Regions from separate parts of the Homo sapiens genome. Here region 2 is linked to region 1. Evidence: promoter capture Hi-C in human tissues and cell types (Jung and others, 2019). All regions are on one chromosome and are shown on one strand. Each heading gives the region's core, a stretch centred on a gene start or on the middle of the fragment in contact. The rest is flanking DNA. Distances are from core to core; before and after follow the strand shown. Region 1 holds the start of SPATA6 (spermatogenesis associated 6). Region 2 overlaps SPATA6 (spermatogenesis associated 6).

What was found. The method cuts DNA at HindIII sites, captures the fragments that hold promoters and counts their contacts. A contact is called where the count stands out against the background at its distance.
Region 2: a fragment that was not itself captured here is called in contact with the fragment with the promoter of SPATA6 in region 1 in 1 of the 25 tissues and cell types used here (IMR-90 fibroblasts).

What each region holds. Positions count from the first base shown.
Region 1 is chr1:48,470,880-48,473,579 of GRCh38, forward strand. It overlaps SPATA6 (spermatogenesis associated 6), which reads right to left and starts at 1,325. Exons shown (of 13, transcript NM_019073.4): 1 at 1,079-1,325. The coding sequence starts at 1,129. LOC124904175 (a long non-coding RNA gene) reads left to right here. Exons shown (of 2, transcript XR_007066074.1): 1 at 1-73. RefSeq lists a silencer at 1,007-1,396 and an enhancer at 1,607-1,656. The HindIII fragment of the contact is 25,705 bases long and covers 1-2,700 here.
Region 2 is chr1:48,298,689-48,301,388 of GRCh38, forward strand. It overlaps SPATA6 (spermatogenesis associated 6), which reads right to left. Exons shown (of 13, transcript NM_019073.4): 13 at 1-205. The coding sequence ends at 25. Among named protein-coding and RNA genes, the nearest start is that of SLC5A9, 77 kb to the left of the region's middle. The HindIII fragment of the contact is 3,207 bases long and covers 1-2,700 here.

The DNA of each region.
Region 1 (2,700 bases), core at 75-2,574:
ACATAAGAAGACTTACTGAGTAAGAAGGAGCGAAGAGACCGAATGGTGAATTTTGGTTCCAAACTCCGTACAGGTCTGTGCCTGCAGGACTAAAACGGGGTGTGGAAAGGGTCTTGTGGAGATTTCCTCCAGAACAGACAAGCGGGAGTATTCCTCTAAACAGGGGAATGAGAGGGTTCTCTAAAGAATGCAGGGGAAGAAGTTCAAAACCCTTGGAAGTCTTCTGAGATCAACAAGGGGAATAGAGTTTTCTCCTAGCATGGAGAGGTCCAGCCCCTTCACTGGATGAGTGGGGTTCTCTGCCCCAGCTGGACTTCCACAGGAGGATGGAGGAAAGCATCCTCTTGAGCAAGTCTGGAGAGTGAAGGGGTGGGGTTGCAAGGTTGGAGAAGGAGGTGTTTCCCTCATAAAAATGACTGGGCCTTTCTTGCAATGGCTGGCACAAAGTCGGAAGGGTCTGGGGACGGGAGGGGCCTGAAGTGATTTCTGAGGAGTTGGGTTTTTCCTGTAAGGCCCTGGGAGGGAAGGCAAGGTACTTTGCGCAATGACACATTTCAGTTGTTGGATGTGAAGATTCTCCTTCGAAGACAGAATAAAGAAAGGCCCCTTCATTAATGCGGGTTTGAAACTGGTCTGAAATGGTGTGCCTGCAGGGATTCGGGAGGAAATGCGACGCCCACCCCCAGACTTGGGAAAGGCGGGGGCAATAATTCTCTAAGAGAACTGGAGCCCGAAAGAGGAATGAAAAGCCCCCGCGCCGCGCACATACACTCTCTCTCACTGGAAAGTTAGGAGCGAGGAAAGAACTCTGAAGTGATTTGGGAACGATCTGAAAGCGCGCAAGTTGGAAGTCGGGTTGAAGCCAGCATAGCGGAGCAGGGGTCAGGCCTCTGCGTGGCCGGAGTGGGAGAGCGCTTCTGAGAACAAGATGGGGCAGGACCGAAGGGGCGTGAGGTCGACGCTCCCTAGGGATGATTCGGAGGGTGAAGGAGGTTTGGGGGTGGTTCCGGGCTCTCGGAGGTGACTGAGGGAGTCCCTGAGCCAATGCCCGGGGGTGGGAGGCGCTACCGGTACTCACTGAGCTGATCTCCAGCGCCAGGGCGCACTGCAGCGCCTTCACCTTCGGCATCCGTGCGGGGAGGGGCGGCGGGGAGTGACCCCGGCCACGGGCCCGAGTGAGGCGGGGAGACCTGGGGCTGGGCGGGGACGGGGAGGAGACGAGGTGGCGGCGGCGGTGGCAGCAGTGGCCCCCAGGCCGGGGCCCGCGGTCCAGCCTGGGTTCCGCCGGAGAAGCAGCTGAGCGCGGGGCGCAGACTCGTTGTCATGGCAGCCAGGAGGGGCGGGGCCGGAAGAGAGGCCGCGCGGGGCACTCCAGGGCTACCCGCGCTGGGACGAGCGCTGGAGGCGGAGCTTGACGAACGCCGAGCGAGGCGGAGTCGGGCAGGGGGCGGGGCTTCCGAAGGGGCGGGGTGAGGCAAGGCAGCTCTTCTGTGACGTCAAACTGCGCCCAAAGCCGGACGAAAGGGAGCTGCTGTTTGTATAATGGGACGGTGCTCTGTTCAGGGAGTTGGAGTTCCTGTAAGGCCGTCGGAGGGAACCCCTGAGTTACAACGTGGTGATGGCACCTTGGGCTAGTGGCGACCCACTGTGGCCTCAGTTTTCCCAATTGTAAAAGAATAATAATTATTGTTAGTCCTCCTATTTAAATTTCACGGCACGGTTTACAAAGCCAGCATAAGGATACTGGGAATTAGGGAAGAGACTTGCCCAAATCAAAGTCGGAACCAGGACTGGAACCCAGGAGCTCTCAAGTTAAACCCCAGTTGCCTCCCTGAGGAGAGGGGCTTGCATCAGATGGTCCATACTCCTAGTCTCCTATTCTGTGATTCCCTTTGTTAGCGCGTTCCCTTTTCCCTTCAAATTTTCCTGTCTAATTCACCCATGTATGCGTCTTAATGCATATTGCTTAAGTGGAACTGTCAATGAGGTGCCAACAATAAGTCCAGCTGTGAAGGGCCTGACAATAGACCATCAAAGATAAAAAGAACCTAAGAGATTGCCCAATCCAATCATGTTAAAAATCATTTGTATTGCAAAATACATTATACATGCAGAAGTGTATAAAACACGTTTATCTTAATAATAATGTGAACAGTACCTGTACAACTAGCACCCGGTTAAGAAATAAAACATTACCAGCACCTGAAAAATGCCCCCAACGATTACATTGCCTTTCTCGCCCTGGAGTAACCACTACCCTGACTTTTGTACAATAATTCTCTTCCTTTTGCCATTCATGTATGCATTTCTAAACAAGATATTGTTTAATGTTTTCCGGTATTGATAGTATATAAATGGTATTAATACTGTATGTATTCTTCTGTGATTTGCTTCTCCCACTTAATATTATGCCACCGGTGATGCTGTGTAGCTGAAGTTTTTTCCATTGCTGGACAGTATTCCAATATAGATTGATTTATCCTTCCTACTATCAATGATCACTTACACTGTTTTCATTTTTAGCTATTATTAACAATGTTGTGAACATTGTAGTACAAGTCTGTGTCTATTAATGCACATGTACTAGCGTAGGAGTGGGTTAGCTGGGTATTAGGGTTTTGCACATGTGGGTCTTTAAAAAGTAAGACCACACCATTTTCCAAAGTAGTGTACCTATTTATGTTTCTGGTGCTTATGTAT
Region 2 (2,700 bases), core at 1-2,500, 170 kb before region 1:
TAATGAGGTTTATCATGGATGGTCTCAGAAGCTTTCCTGTGTATGTGAAGCAGAACTACAGGCCTTTTTGTATAAGTTCCTGTACATCTTGTCCATGCTGTTCTCAAAGATGGGTCGGTGGGATTTTCCCTTATAAGAGGCTGCCCTGTTGGACCAGTATTCACCGTCATCCAAATGGAAAGTGCCACGTGGCTGCTGACATGAGCTATAAAAAGGGATATAAAAGGTTCAAAACAATAATGAAACAAAATTAGAGATAGTACTATGTAAATCAAATATTTATTGAGTACTCTATGGCTATTTAATTCTCTGCTGGGGCTGTGAAAAATAAAACAGAGTAAGGCCTGTGCTTTCAAAGAGGGACATTTTAAAAGGGGAGGCAGAAGTATCTGTGTAAAACTGTTATAAAACAGTAAAATGAAAATTTTGTGTTAGAGTGAAAAAGGAATTCAGAGAACAGACACAGGTACAGCATAATAAAAGCAGAACATAATAAAAGCAGTTCTTATACTGGCCTGGTATGGCCAGTATAAGAATGCACAGCCCAAGGCACAGTGGCTCACGCCTATAATCCCAGCACTTTGGGAGGCTGAGACGAGCAAATCACCTGAGGTCGGGAGTTCGAGACTAGCCAGACCAACATGGAGAAACCCCATATCTACTAAAAAATACAAAATTAGCTGAGGATGGTGGCGCTTGCCTATAATCCCAGCTACTCGGGAGGCTGAGGAAGAAGAATCACTTGAAACCGGGAGGCAGAGGTTGCAGTGAGCTGAGATCACGCCATTGCACCCCAGCCTGGACAACAAGAGCAAAACTCCGTCTCGGAAAAAAAAAAAAAAAAAAAAAGAATGCATAGTTGCTAAAAGTCAGGCATACCTGAAACTGAATTCCAGCTCAGTCCTTTATAAGCTGTGAGACCTTGGGCAATTTATTTAACTATCCAGAGTCTCAACTTCCTTAACTTTAGTTTTACAGGATTGTTTTAAAATTTAAACACAGACGTTATTAAATATGAGACACTAAACCAGGTACTTTATATCTATTTATGAATACATTTTACAACACATAGAAGTTGGTAGATATAGAAATGAAGACTCAGTGAAGTTAAGTGACTTGCCTAAGACTGCTCAGCTAGTAAGTGGCAAAATGAAAAAGACAACGTGTGTGCTCTAAGACCCTTTCTACTATGCCATGCTGCTATTGCCCTCAAGGAGTAGAAAATTAGGCTAACTGTGAACATTTGTGGAAAATGGAAACAAGGCAGAAGAGTTTGAAGTGAAAGGATCAACTGTAGTTTTGAGGGTCTTAAGGAAAAAAGAAGGTGGGAGAGAGAGAGAGAGCGAGCGCATGCAAGAGAGCACGCATGTAAGTGAGAGGAAGCCCATAGGAAGCTAATGAAATAGACTAAGACTGGGCTAGCTGTGATGAAGATAGAAAAGAAAAGGTAACTCTTTCTTAAGGATTAATAGCACTTTTTATGTTATCAGTGTTATAATTTTACTAACATAAATTCCGGAATTACATTTTTTATGGATAAAATGTTGAGTTTATTTTCTTATATAAATAATTGACCTTCTTCAAGGTCAATGAAATACTTTTATAGATTAGACCTTCCAGGCCTGTTAGAGATTGTAAAGTTTCTTCCCAGATACACACAACCTACAAACCAAGATTATACTATGAACAAATACAAAACCTGAACAGACCAATAATGAATAACAATATTGAAACAGTAATAAAAAGTCTCCTATAAAAGAAAAGCCCTGGATCTCTGGCTTCACTGCTGAATTTTACCAAATATTTAAAGAAGAACTAATAAGAAGTCTACTCAAAATATTACAAAAAATTAAAGATATGAGAAAACCCATTTTATAAGACTAGCATTACCCTGGTACCAAAACCAGACAAAAACAACAACAAAAATAAACTACAGGCTAATATTCCTGATGAACAGATGCAAAAATCCTCAACAGAATATTAGAAAATTGAATTCAAAAACACATGAAAAAGATCATTCACCATGATCAAATGGTATTCATTCCAGGGATGCAAGGATGGTTCATCATGGGCAAATCAATAAATGTGATACATAATATCAACAGAATTAAAACAAAAAAAAAGTATAATCATTTCAATGGGTGCTGAAAAAGCATTCAATACAATTCAACATCCACTCATAATAAAACCCCTCCATAAACTGGGCATGGAAGGAACATACCTCAAAATGATAAGGGCCATATACAACAAACTCACAGCTAATATTATACTGAATGGGAAAAAGATCTGAAACAGGACAAAGATGCCCACTTTCGCCACTTATATTCAACATAGTAATGGAAGTCCTAGCCAGAGCAATTAGGCAAATGAAAGAAATAAAGGGGATCCAAACTGAAAAAGAAGTTAAATTATTCCCTTCCATAGAAAACATGATGTTTTATTTAGAAAAACATAAAGACTCCACCAAAAAATTAAAATGAATAAACACATTTAGTAAGGTTGCAAAATAAAAAATTAACATGCAATAATCAACATTTCTATATTCCAACAGTAAACAATCTGCAACAGAGATCAAGAAAGCAATCCCATTTCCAATACTAAAAGAAAAAAAAAAGCCAGAAAAGTGAAAGACTGCTATGACAAAAACTATAAAACACTGATGAAAGAAACTGGAGAACACAAGAAAATGGAAAGATATTC